4 separate regions of the Homo sapiens genome follow, and regions 2, 3 and 4 are each linked to region 1. The links are contacts of gene promoters, found by promoter capture Hi-C in human tissues and cell types (Jung and others, 2019). All regions are on one chromosome and are shown on one strand. The core of a region is centred on a gene start or on the middle of the fragment in contact, and the rest is flanking DNA. Distances in the headings are between cores, read along the strand shown. Region 1 holds the start of CHRM1 (cholinergic receptor muscarinic 1). Region 2 has its middle 19 kb from the start of SLC22A25. Region 3 has its middle 59 kb from the start of SLC22A9. Region 4 overlaps SLC22A25 (solute carrier family 22 member 25).

Region 1 (3,243 bases), core at 552-3,051:
TCCTGGCTCCTTGCACTCTCCTCCTCATTTCCTTTCTTCTCTCTCCCTCCCTCCTCCATCCTTGTAGGCATCACCATGGCACCACAGCAGAGCAGAAACCCAGCGCAATTCACCCACCTCTCCCCGCCTGCTGGGAGCCCAAGCTTCTGCGTCTCAGAGCTTACTGCGCCCCCTGCTCTCCCACCCCATCTTCCTGCTCATGGAGGCGGCAGCGCAGTGTTGTGCTGAGGATGCGGAGAAGGGGTCCGAGCCCCAGCTGGATCCCTACATATCCCTTCTCCGACCATGAGCATGTCCCTTTCCCTTTCTCAGCCTCAGTCCCTCCATACAATAGAAAGCCTCCTTTCTAGGTCTGACATGACCTCTGGTTAGCCCCTTCTTGACACTTTGGACTCCCCATTACACTTCAGAATCCAGTTCTCAGAACTCCAACCGCCAGCTGTCAGCTGCGAGCCAAGACCCACATCTTCTGCAGCCCATTTCACTATCTCCTTCCCTTTCATATCTCAGCCGCGATAGCGACTGCAGCTTGCCTGGTGGCTGAGGTCAGAGGGCAGAGAACTCTCATCTGACAGCCCACTGAACAGCTGATTACCCTGAGAAAGGAGACTGTCTGGCTACTGGAGACTGCCTGACTCCTTCCAGCCAGTTGGGCAGGGGTCTTGGGTCAGTCTGGGTGGAGCTGCAGGTGTGTTTTGTGCAAAGATGTGAACCCCTCTCCATTGGCTCTGATAACCTCTAAGCTGCACATGTCTGGATGACCTAATGAGAGCTGACGACCCCCTCCCCAGCTGGCCTGCCCAGGAGCTGACAACTCTACAAGCATCAGAGTTCCTGGCCCCTAGCCCATCCCCATGTTGTGCAGTCTGCGGGCACTGGGGTGAGTACCTGGCGTGGGTGCCCATTGGTATCCATGCATTGCCTGGATATAGGACTGAGACCCACCCTGCGGGAGCCCAAGATACTAGAAACATAAGGAGGGTCCTCTGGGCCCCTGCGCACGTCAGGGCCACCTTCCCTGGCTAGTGTGGCCACCCACATGCCCATTTGTCCCCAAAGAGCCCTGGGGCTCTTTGCCTGGTCTCCTGCTGGCTTCTGGCCTGACACCCACCTTGGCTTCTAGCTTCTCTATCTGGCCAGCAGCCTGATTCAGTCCATCTTGGGGGAGCTGAGGTGGACGGGGGTGGTGGGTTTCAGGGTGCCCTGAGGGAGGACAGGAGGTTCTGGGACTGGCACCCCCATCAAGATGGGGGTCAACCTCCCACAGGATGCTGGTGGCAAGGGCTGCTTCCTGGCCCTTTGCCCTTCCCACTCTGCCCCTAGGGTGTTGGGGGTTCTGCTTGCTACCAGGCAGCCTAATCCCTTCTGGGCCTCAGGTCCAGTTTCCTGAGGGGGATCTCCATCTCCTCTGCCAGCAGAAGCCCAGAAAAACATCAGCTATATCCACTCAAAGCCAGGAGGCCGAGTGTTTGGAGCAGTCAGTGTTCAATGCTACAGAGCCCCCTTGCCCTCTAGACCCCTCCCTGGCCTCCTCCTATCTCTGTGAGTCCATCCCTATTTCCATCTCATCCTGATCCCTGCCCTCCCCCGCTCCCCAGGACCCTCCTACCCTCTACCTTAGTGCAGCCCCTCCCAAGCCCTCCCAAATGTACTCACCACGGGGCTGAAGAGGGGTCTGTAGGGTCCTCAGCCCCACTGCCTCCCTGGGGGCCTGCGGCGTCTCCAGGGACCCAAACACCTGGCTCCCAGGGGGAGCTGCGCCCTGTGCTGGCAGCGGGAGAGGCACAGCCAGTGATTGGCATGTCCCACCCCCTGGCACGCCAGCCTTAGCGGGGAGGGAGAAAGGGAAAGAGAGGGAGGGAGGAAAGGGAGAAAAGGAAGGGAGGGGAGCTGGAGGGAAGCCTCAGGCAGCGTCTGGGGTTGGACTAGGTTCTGGAGTGTGCCCCCCTCCTTCACCAGGGCACCCAATTTGAGCCCCAAGAGGGAGGAGAAAGGACATGAGGAAGGCGAGCCCAGGAAGGCTAAAAGTCCCGGACGGGAGAGAAGGCGGATACAGGGAGACAAACACCCACACCCACTGCACAGACCCGGCGGCACACACACCCTCACAAAGGCACACTGTTTCCTTGGGCTCCTCCCCCCACCCAACCTTAGAGCCCCCAGCCCCTGTGCACCATGCCCCAACACACATGCCCTGGTATTCACATGCCTGCTTCCCTCGCACACACGCCCTCCCCCCTGCACATGCCCACGCACCCACCCACCCAACTACACACCCTGCTCTTCCTCCCTGCTGTGAGAGAGCTAGATTCCTTCTGTTTGGAAATGACACATTGGGCCTCACGTGAGAGGCTCCAACTTGGAACAGACCCAGAGGGCTGGCGCACCCGCCCGGGGGCTGAGTGAACGTGCCCGCATGCTGGGCTGTGTGCGCTAGCATTGGGCTATGCATAGCCTGTTGTGAGGGTATATGGGTGTCTGCTTTTCGGGGATGAGTAGAGGGCCAGGTGCCTGCCCCATGTGCGGCTGAGTGCCTTGCATATGTGTGTCCCTGTGTACTCATGTCACCATGCAGCCTGTGTAAGTGCAGGTGTGACCCTATCAGTCTGGAGGCAGGACGCGTGTGCACACGTGTGTCTGTATCTGATGTGTGGCTGAGTGTTGCCCAACTGTGGAACTTGCTAATTCTGACAAGTGAGGCAGCCTCTACCTGCCTGCTCCACCCCAAGCTTCCACTTGGAAGACAGACAGGCAGACAGACAGCTCTCCTCCCAGCTTGTCAAGCTCTGTCTCCCCTGACTCCCACTCAGGGCTCACAGGTGTGTACCTGGGAGGAGATGAGCCCTCCTCCCAATCTCCCTCAGCCCTACTGGGTGAGGCCAGCATCCCTCCCTGCCAGGCTGGTCTGGACTTCTGTGTTGAGCTTCCTCAGAGATAGAACCCCTGGGGGGCCGTTTGCCCTAGAGATGTGGGTCCTGCACCGCCTCTGTTTGGCCCTAGAGACCTCCCCGGGAGCTGACTGGGGAGGAGAGTTGGAGGCTGCAGGGACTGCCTTCTGGGGCTGCTGTGTTCTTTGCCCACTGGGCTGTGTCGAAGTCTTGGGGTGAGAGGTGGGAAGGAATGGGAGCATCAATTATCCCCATTTTGTAGGTGAGAAATCTGAAGAGCAGAGGTATGATTAGCATGTGGTGGGCAGGTGTTTGGGCTCAGGTCACTTGGCTCTAAGCCCAGGGCTCTGGAGTC
Region 2 (3,401 bases), core at 475-2,974, 340 kb after region 1:
TTGGGTTAGAACATGCTCCTTTAGCTTGGAGGAGTTTATTATTACCCACATTCTGAAGTCTACTTCTGTCAATTTGTCAAACTCATTCTCCACCCAGTTTTGTTTCCTTGCTGGTGAGGAGTTGTGATCCTTTGGGGAAGAAGAGGCATTCTGGTTTTTGGAATTTTCAGCCTTTTCGTGCTGGTTTCTCCCCATCTTCATAGGTATATCTACCTTTGATCTTTGGCATTGGTTTCTGAATGGACATCCTTTTTGTTGATGTTGATGCTATTTTTTTCTGTTTGTTAGTTCTCCTTCTAACAGTCAGGCCCCTCTGCTGCAGGTCTGCTGGAGTTTGCTGGAGGTCCACTCCAGACACTGTTTGACTGGTATCACCAGTGGAGGCTGCAGAACAGCAAAGATTGCTGCCTGTTCCTTCCTCTGGAAGCTTCATCCCAGAGGGGCACATACCAGATGCCAGGCGGAGCTCTCCTGTATGAGGTGTCTGTAGCCCCTGCTGGGAGGTGTCTCCCAGTCAGGAGACATGGGTGTCAGGGACCCACTTGAGGAGGCAGTCTGACCCTTAGCAGAGCTAGTGCACTGTGCTGGGAGATCTGCTGCTCTCTTCAGAGCCTGCAGGCAGTGGCGTTTAAGTCTGCTGAAGCTGCGCCAACAGCCACTCCTTCCCCCAGGTGCTCTGTCCCAGGGAGATGGGAATTTTATCTATAAGCCCCTGACTGGGGCTGCTGCCTTTTTTTCAGAGATGCCCTGCCTGGAGAGGAGGAATCTAGAGAGGCAGTATGGCTATAGTGGCTTTGCTGAGCTGTGGAGGTCTCTGCCCAGTTGGAACTTCGCTGTGGCTTTTTTACACTGTAAGGGGAAAACCAACTACTCAAGCCTCAGTAATGGCAGATGCCCCTCCCCGCACTAAGCTCAAGCTTAGTTCCCAGGTCGACTTCAGACTGCTGTGCTGGCAGGGAGAATTTCAAGCCAGTGGATCTTAGCTTGCTGGGCTCTATGGGGGTGGGATCCATTGAGCTAGACCACTTGGCTCCCTGGCTTCAGCCCCCTTTCCAGGGGAGTGAATGGCTGTCTTGCTGGCATTCCAGGCACCACTGGGATATGAAAAGAAATTCCTGCAGCTAGCTTGGTGTCTGCCCAAACGGCCACCCAGTTTTGTGCTTGAAACTCAGGGCTCTGGTGGTGTAGGCACCCTGGGGAATGTCCTGGTCTGTGGGTTGGGAAGACCATGGGAAAAGCATAGTATCTGGGCTGGGACTGTTCCTCATGGCACAGTCCCTCAAGGCCTCCCTTGGCTAGAGGAGGGAGTTCCTTGACCCCTTGCACTTCTGGGGTGAGGCAATGCCCCACCCTGCTTCGGCTCACCCTCCATGGGCTACACCCACTGTCTAACCAGTCCCAATGAGACGAGCCGGGTACCTCAGTTGGAAAAGCAGAAATCACCTGCCTTCTATGTTGATCTCACCGGGAGCTGCAGACCGGAGCTGTTCCTATTTGGCCGTCTTGCCAGGTCTGCCCGGTACAACATTTCTTAAGGTCCCAGAAAGGTCAAAGATTCTGTGTATTACTGAGAAACAAAGGGCCTTTAAAAAGATTAAGGACATGCCCCTCAATCAAACAACAGAGGCTCTAGGATACTTAGGTGCACTGTTTCTTCACCATCTCAGCAGAAGCCCAAGGTGAAAAGTTTATCTCAAAGATATTTGTTGGGGTAGATTTTCTCTAATAAGATAAACCACAAAGAGATTCACAGAACATCCACAACTTTTTAAAGAAATCTTTATCAGAAAAATGCTGCCAATTTGACTGCAAGGGGCAAAGACAGTACAAAAATAAAAAGGCTGTGTAGTCCTCAAAATGCTCTGGGTGGGAAGGTAGCTGAGAATACTATTCACTTAGAGGTATGTTCTGTCTTTTAAAAAAAATGTTGGATCCAAGTGGCACGAGGCTGTGGCTGAGAGCCAAATTGCTTTCATTTTTCATGCCTCCAGACCTATTCAAGGAACTTCTAATATTTGCCTAAGTGCACTTCATAATTGCTCTGAACTCCTTGTGTCTCACGTCTCCTCCATTTTGAACGGGAATGTCTACAGTAGTAATTGGATGCTTGTATTATTATTGTGTGTTGAGTGTTTTGGAGACAAGTGTCTTGTCTCTTCAGTTTCACAGATTAACAAATACAAAGATAAAAGCCAGAGAACTCCATGTAAGTAGTCTCACTTACACTTGAACCTCATTTAAATGGTAAGATTCTGGACTTTGAGTGTGTGCTATAATGAAATAATACTTTTCTGGACATTTCACACATGATAATGTAGTACATCAGAGGGATGGAATCATTTGGGACCAGAGGGTCTGGCCACAATCTGCCACAGCTGCTGTTCCATGCTGCGGAGAATTCCTGCTGGTCCAAACTGCCCAGTCTTCCTGGCACCAGCAGGGGAGAACAGCAGACTGGAGCCACAGTGATGGTTGTCTTCTTAGGCAGTCTCTGTCCTGCTGCCACTGGCTGCAACCTGGGCAGCCACCAAGAGCTTGCACAGCTCTGTGCTTGGGTCCCAAGGCCCTGGTGGTGTGGGCTCACGAGGGATCTCTTGATCCATGGGTTGCACAGATCCGTGGAAAGAGCGTGGTTTCTCAGGCAGGGTACCACAATCACTCACTCCCTCCCTTGGCTGGGAGTGGGGGCTCCCCTTACTCCATGCAACTCCTGGGTGGGCCCTCGTTCCATCTTGCTTTTTCTTACTCTCAGTGGATCATGCCAACCGCCTAGTCAGTCCCAATGAGAGAACCTGGATACCTCAGTTGAAGGCACAGGATCCACTCACCATTTTTGCTCTTCTTGGTGGGCGCCACCAACTGCAGCTGCTTCTAATAGGCCATCTTGGCCCCCTCTGCCCATCTTTTTACTGTTAATGGATATTAACTTGGACCTATGACCTGAGAAACCTTATTTATTCACTTTTTAAATTCGAATGTTTAATTAATTCATTAATTCTGCTATTTGAATTAATGGCACAGAGGCCTAAGTCTGAACACAAGGGGAAAATGAACTCTCTAACCCAGAAATATATACAGGTAATATGTAAGTGAGATAGACTCAAAGGTCACAAGTTTTAACTGAGACTATTAGATGGCATTGAGCATCTAAACTCCTCTCAGTGTCCTTGTGGGTGACATGCTTCAGTGACAGCCATGGTTGACTGCCTCCTCCAGAAGGAGCTCTGCCAGGACACAGAAAGCCCTAAATATCTCATCCTTAAGCCAAGTCATCCTGGGTTCTTACTTTGCAAAAATTACCTATTAAAGCTATTCCACAGGATCAGCATCCAGGTTAGAGGTGCAATGTCTTCCAATCCTGCGAGTGCCACAGTGCTTGCACAACCCTCAGATTTTATAAT
Region 3 (3,045 bases), core at 384-2,883, 510 kb after region 1:
ATTTACAATCCCTGATAATTAGTGTTGAGCATTTTTCATATACTATTGGTCTTTTGTAAGTCTTCTTTTGAAAAATATTGTTCATTTTTAGTGGGATTGTTTGGTTTTCTATAGTTGAATTGTTATTCTTGTATAGAATACATATTAGTCCCCTTTGGATGAGCACTTTGCAAATATTTTCTCCCATTCAAGTGATTTGCACTTCCCTTGTAATAGGTGATGTTGAGCAGATTTTCATATACCTATTAGCCATTTGTACATCTTTTTTTAGGTAAGATTTTATTTATTATGATGGGTGTGCTTGCCTGTTCCTAAGTTCATTCCAGTCTGGAACATAGGAAGATAATGCTACCTGCATAGCTGCTACACCATTCAGCCATTTCTTTCCTTTGTTTTTAACTGGGTTAAGATAGAAAACCCTAGTTCACACAAACTAGTTGTTGTGAATGGTAGTAATAGCAGGACACTCTTTCTATTTAACAATGGAAAGTCTTCCTTTACCTTATTCCAAAATGCTGATAAGCTTAAGGTCTCATAATCATTCTTTAATGTATATGAAGAACTAAACTGCAATAATTCATTCTCTTCTTCAGGCACCAAGTTTAGCTCAATTATTGATTCAGGGTTTTGAAAAGCAAATGGATATTTTACCCAACTGTTTTCCCTTAATGTTTCAAATTTTTCTTCTGGAAAGAAACGGTTAAAAGTTTGAGATAGGTCACTTCCAAGATGGCCTAATAGGAACAGCTCCAGTCTACAGCTCCCAGTGAGATCGATGCAGAAGATGGGTGATTTCTGCATTTCCAACTGAGGTACCTGGTTCATCTCATTGGGACTGGTTGGACAGTGGGTGCAGCCCATGGAGGGTGAGCCAAAGCAGGGCAGGGCATCACCTCACCCAGGAAGTGCAAGGGGTTGGGGGATTTCCCTTTCCTAGCCAAGGAAAGCTGGGAGTGACTGTACCTGGAGGAATGGTACACTCCTGCCCAAATACTGCACTTTTCCCAGGGTCATCACAACCAGCAGACCAGGAGATTCCCTCCCAAGCCTGACTAGACAGGTCCCACACCCATGGAGCCTTGCTCGCTGCTAATGCAGCAGTCTGAGATCAACCTGGGATGTTGGAGCTTGGCAGGGGGAGGGGCATCCACTACTACTGAGGCTTGAGTAGGCAGTTCTATGCCCACAGTCTAAACAAAGCAACAGGGAACTTCAAACTGGGCGGAGCCCACCACAGCTCAGCAAGGCCTACTGCCTCTCTAGATTCCACCTCTAGGGGCAGGGCATATCTGAACAAAAGGCAGGAGACAGCTTCTGCAGACTTAAACCTCCCTGCCTAACAGCTCTGAAAAGAGCAGTGGTTCTCACAGCACAGAGTTCAAGCTCTGATAATGGACAGACTGCCTCCTCAAGTGGGTCCATGACCCCATGATTCCTGATGGGGAGACACCTCACAGTAGGGGCCGACAGACACCTCATACAGGCAGGTGTCCCTCTGGGACAAAGCTTCCAGAGAAAGGATCAGGCAGCAATATTTGCTGTTCTGCAACCTCCACTGGAAATACCCAGGCAAACCTGGTAATACTCCAGGGTCTGGAGTGGACCTCCAGCAAACTCCAACAGACCTGCAGATGAGGGGCCTGACTGTTAGAAGGAAAACTAACAAACAGAAAGGAATAGCATCAACATCAACAAAAAGGACATCCACAACAAAACCCCATCCATAGGTCACCAACATCAAAGACCAAACGTAGACAAAAACCACAAAAATGGGGAGAAACCAGAGCAGAAAGGCTGAAAATTCCAAAACCAAAATACCTCTTCTCCTCCAAAGGAACACAACTCCTCAACAGCAAGGGAATAAAACTGGATGGAGAATGAGTTTGACAAATTGACAAAAGTAGTCATCAGAAGGTCGGTAATAACAAACTTCTCTGAGCTAAAGGAGCATGTTCTAACCCATTGCAAGGAAACTAAACTTTGAAAAAAGGTTAGACGAATGGCTAACTAGAATACCAGTAAGGAGAAGAGCTTAAATGGCCTGATGGAGCTGAGAACCACAGTATGAGACCTTCATGAAGCATACACAAGCTTCAATAGCCGATTAGATCAAGTGGAAGTAAGGATATCAGTGATTGAAGATCAAATTAATGAAATAAAGTGAGAAGACAAGACTAGAGAAACAAGGGTGAAAAGAAACAAATAAAGCCTCCAATAAACATGAGACTATATGAAGACCAAATCTATGTTTGATTGGTGTACCTGAAAGTGATGGGAGAATGGAACCAAGTTAGAAAACACTCTTCAGGACATTATCCAGGAGAACTTCCCCAACGTAGCAAGGCAGGCCAACATTCAACTTCAGGAAATAGAGAGAACACCACAAAGATACTCCTGGAGAAGAGCAACCCCAAGAAACATAATCATCATATTCACCAAGGTTGAAATGAAGGAAAAAATGTTAAGGGCAGCCAGAGAGAAAAGTCAGGTTACCCACAAAGGGAAGCCCATCAGACTAACAGCAGATCTCTCAGCAGAAACCCTACAAGCCAGAAGAGAGTGGGGGCTAATATTCAACATTATTAAAGAAAAAATTTTTAACCCAGAATTTCATATCCAGCCAACTAAGCTTCATAAGTGAAGGAGAAATAAAATCCTTTACAAACAAGCAAGTGCTGAGGGATTTTGTCACCATCAGGTGTGCCTTAAAGAGCTCCTGAAGGAAGCACTAAATATGGAAAGGAAAAAGTGGTACCAGCCACTGCAAAAACAAACCAAAATGTAAAGACCATCGACACTATGAAGAAACCGCATCAACTAATGGGGAAAATAACCTGCTAGCACCATAATGACAGGATCAAATTCACACATAACAATATTAGCATTAAAGGTAAGTGGGCTAAATGCCCCAATTAATAGGCACAGATGGGCAAACTGGATGAAGAGTCAAGACTCATCAGTGTGCTGTATTCAGGAGACCCATCTCAAGTGCAAAGACACACTTATGCTCAAAATAAAGGGATGGAGAAATATTTACCAAGCAAA
Region 4 (3,079 bases), core at 160-2,659, 290 kb after region 1:
CACAATAAAAAATGATAAAGGGGATATCACTGCTGATCCCATAGAAATACAAACTGCCATCACAGAATATTATAAACAACCCTATGCAAATGAAGTAGAAAATCTAGATGAAATGGATAAATTCCTGGACATATACATTCTCCCAAGACTAAACCAGGAAGAAGTTGAATCCTTGAATAGACCAATAACAAGTTCTGAAATTGAGGCAGTAATTAATAGCCTACCAACCAACCAAAGGCCAGGACCAGAAAGATTTACAGCCGAATTCTACCAGAGGTACAAAGAGAAGTTGGTACCCTTCCTTCTGAAACTATTCCAAACAACAGAATAAAAGGGACTCTTCCCAAACTCATTTTATGAGGCCAGCATCATCCTGATACCAAAACCCGTTGGAAACACAACAAAAAAATTCAGGCCAATATTCCTGATGAACATTAGTGCAAAAATCCTCAATAAAATATGGGCAAACTGAATCCAGCAGCACATCAAAAAGCTTATCCACCACCATCAAGTCAGCTTCATCCCTGGGATGCAAGGCTGGTTCCACGTAAGCAAATCCATCACATAAACAGAACAAATGACAAAAACCACATGATTATCTCAATAGATGCAGAAAAGGCCTTCAATAAAATTGAACACCACTTCATGCTAAAAACTCTCAATAAACTAGTTATTGATGGAACGTATCTCAAAATAATAGCAGCTATTTATTATGAACCTATAGCCAATATCATACTAAATGGGCAAAAGCTGGAAGCATTCCCTTTGAAAACCAGCACAAGATGAGGGTGGTGTCTCTCACTACTCCTATTCAACATAGTATTGGAAGTTCTGGCCAGGCCAATCAGGCAAGAGAAAGAAATAAAGGGTATTCAAACAGGAAGAGAGGAAGTCAAAATCTCTCTGTTTCCAGACAGTATGATTGTTTATTTAGAAAACCCCATTGTCTCAGTCCAAAATCTTCTTAAGCTGATAAGCAACTTCAGCAAAGTCTCAGGATACAAAATCAATGTGCAAAAATCACAAGCATTCCTATACACAAATAATAGAAAAACAGAGAGCCAAATCATGAGTGAACTCTCATTCACAGTTGCTACAAAGAGAATAAAATACCTAGGAATAGAACTCACAAGGGATGTGAAGGATGTCTTCAAGGAGAATTGCAAACCACTGCTCAAGGAAATAAGAGAAAATACAAACAATGGAAAAATATTCTGTGCTCATGGATAGAATCAATATCATAAAAATGGCCATACTGCCCAAAGTAATTTAAAGATTCAATGCTATCCCCAACAAGCTACAAATGACTTTTTCACAGAATTAGAAAAAAGTACTTGAAATTTCATATGGAACTACAAAAGAGCCTACGTAGCCAAGGCAATGTTAAGCAAAAAGAACAAAGCTGGAGGCATCATGTTACCTGACTTCAAACTACATTACAAGGCTACAGTAACCAAAACAGCATGGCAGTGGTACCAAAACAGATACATAGACCACTTGAACAGAACAGAGCCCTCAGAAATAATTTCACACATCCACAACCATCTGATCTTTGATAAACCTGACAAAAACAAGCAATGGGGAAGGGATTCCCTATTTAATAAATGGTGCTGGGAAAACTGGCTAGCCATATACAGAAAACTGAGGGGTCCACCTTATACAAAAATTAACTCAGGATGAATTAAAGACTTAAATGTAAGACCTAAAGGCATAAAAACCCTAGAAGAAAACCTAGGCATTACCATTCAGGACATAGGCATGGACAAAGATTTTATGACTAAAACACAAAAAGCAATGGCAACAAAAGCCAAAATTGATAAATGGGATCTAATTAAGCTAAAGAGCTTCTGCACAGCATTGGTAACTATCATCAGAGTGAACAGGCAACCTTCAGAAGGGGAGAAAATTTTTGCAATCTATTCATCTGGCAAAGGGCTAATATCCAGAATCTACAAGGAACTTAAATAAATTTACAAGAAAAAAATACTCCATCAAAAAGTGGGTAAAGGATATGACCAGACACTTCTCAAAATAAGACATTTATGCAGCCAACAAACATATGAAAAAAAGCTCATCATCACTGGTCATTAGAGAAATGCAAATCAAAACCACAATGTGATACCATCTTGGAACAGGAATTAAGAGAAATGAAAGAATGTGTAAGCAGAAACTCAGCTGTATGTAAGAAAACCCAATTCCCCCTGAGAAAAAGAAAGAGCTGGAGTCCTTTAAAAATTAACTGCCTATTTTTCTGTGGCTAGTGAGCCTTATCTCTCCTTCTTTCCTAGGCATTGTGAAGACCCTGTTTCTCTAGATGTGTAGCTGCAAGGTCACTAGACAGATAAACTCAAGTCGTAAAACATGTTTGTTTTTGAAATGTAAGAAATGATGTAATGCATGTCTTAATTAATTGAATAACTGTCTTTGTTTCTCACTTCTGTAATATGCTTCCCCCTGCACAGATCTCCCCCTACCCCACGAAATGCTTAAAAGGTAACTTAAGTCTTTGTTCAGGGCTCAGTCCTTTGGATGCTAATCTGACTGGGCCAGCACACCTAAATAATAACTATCCTCCTGAACCCCATTGGTCTCTCTGATTCCTTAACAATCCTGCAACATTTCTGGGGACTCATCCAGGATTGGAGATGACAGATTTACTGTCTCCTTTGCCTGTGGGACTACAGCCCTGTGGCCATGGGAGACCTGGCATCCAAGGCATACCATGAGGGAGCTTCACCTGGATGGAGACTGGCTCTTCCCCCATCCTGGCAGCCTGCCTGGCAGTGCAATGGAGCCAGGGGTGGGGCTGCAGTATGATACCAGCACTTCAGGAACCATGGTAAGGAGCAAGGGCCCAAGGCAGGGAAGCCCATCCCATAAGGACAAAGGGGAGCTTCATCACCTCCCAGGGAACAACCACTAATCCAACCCAGAATGGCTGGGGGTGGCAGGAGTCGCTTGCCAATTTGGATGAACCTCATGTCCCCACTAACAAAGTGAAAGTGGTTCATTGGATCTGGAGACAGGAACTGGGAGTGTGTGCGTGCATGTAAACCTACCCGGGACACGAGAGAGGCTC

Evidence for each region. The method cuts DNA at HindIII sites, captures the fragments that hold promoters and counts their contacts. A contact is called where the count stands out against the background at its distance.
Region 2: a fragment that was not itself captured here is called in contact with the fragment with the promoter of CHRM1 in region 1 in 2 of the 25 tissues and cell types used here (dorsolateral prefrontal cortex and thymus).
Region 3: a contact is called between a fragment that was not itself captured here and the fragment with the promoter of CHRM1 in region 1, in 5 of the 25 tissues and cell types used here (H1 embryonic stem cells, dorsolateral prefrontal cortex, mesenchymal stem cells and 2 more).
Region 4: a contact is called between a fragment that was not itself captured here and the fragment with the promoter of CHRM1 in region 1, in 2 of the 25 tissues and cell types used here (mesendoderm cells and spleen).

The regions. Positions count from the first base shown.
Region 1 is chr11:62,919,562-62,922,804 of GRCh38, forward strand. CHRM1 (cholinergic receptor muscarinic 1) reads right to left here and starts at 1,802. Exons shown (of 2, transcript NM_000738.3): 1 at 1,657-1,802. LOC105369333 (a long non-coding RNA gene) reads left to right here and starts at 599. Exons shown (of 5, transcript XR_002957251.2): 1 at 599-880. RefSeq lists an enhancer at 2,126-2,660. The HindIII fragment of the contact is 6,896 bases long and covers 1-3,243 here.
Region 2 is chr11:63,260,761-63,264,161 of GRCh38, forward strand. No RefSeq gene overlaps it. Among named protein-coding and RNA genes, the nearest start is that of SLC22A25, 19 kb to the left of the region's middle. The HindIII fragment of the contact is 6,692 bases long and covers 1-3,401 here.
Region 3 is chr11:63,427,070-63,430,114 of GRCh38, forward strand. No RefSeq gene overlaps it. Among named protein-coding and RNA genes, the nearest start is that of SLC22A9, 59 kb to the left of the region's middle. The HindIII fragment of the contact is 3,761 bases long and covers 1-3,045 here.
Region 4 is chr11:63,205,447-63,208,525 of GRCh38, forward strand. All of the region lies in intron 7 of SLC22A25 (solute carrier family 22 member 25), which reads right to left. Among named protein-coding and RNA genes, the nearest start is that of SLC22A25, 37 kb to the right of the region's middle. The HindIII fragment of the contact is 3,713 bases long and covers 1-3,079 here.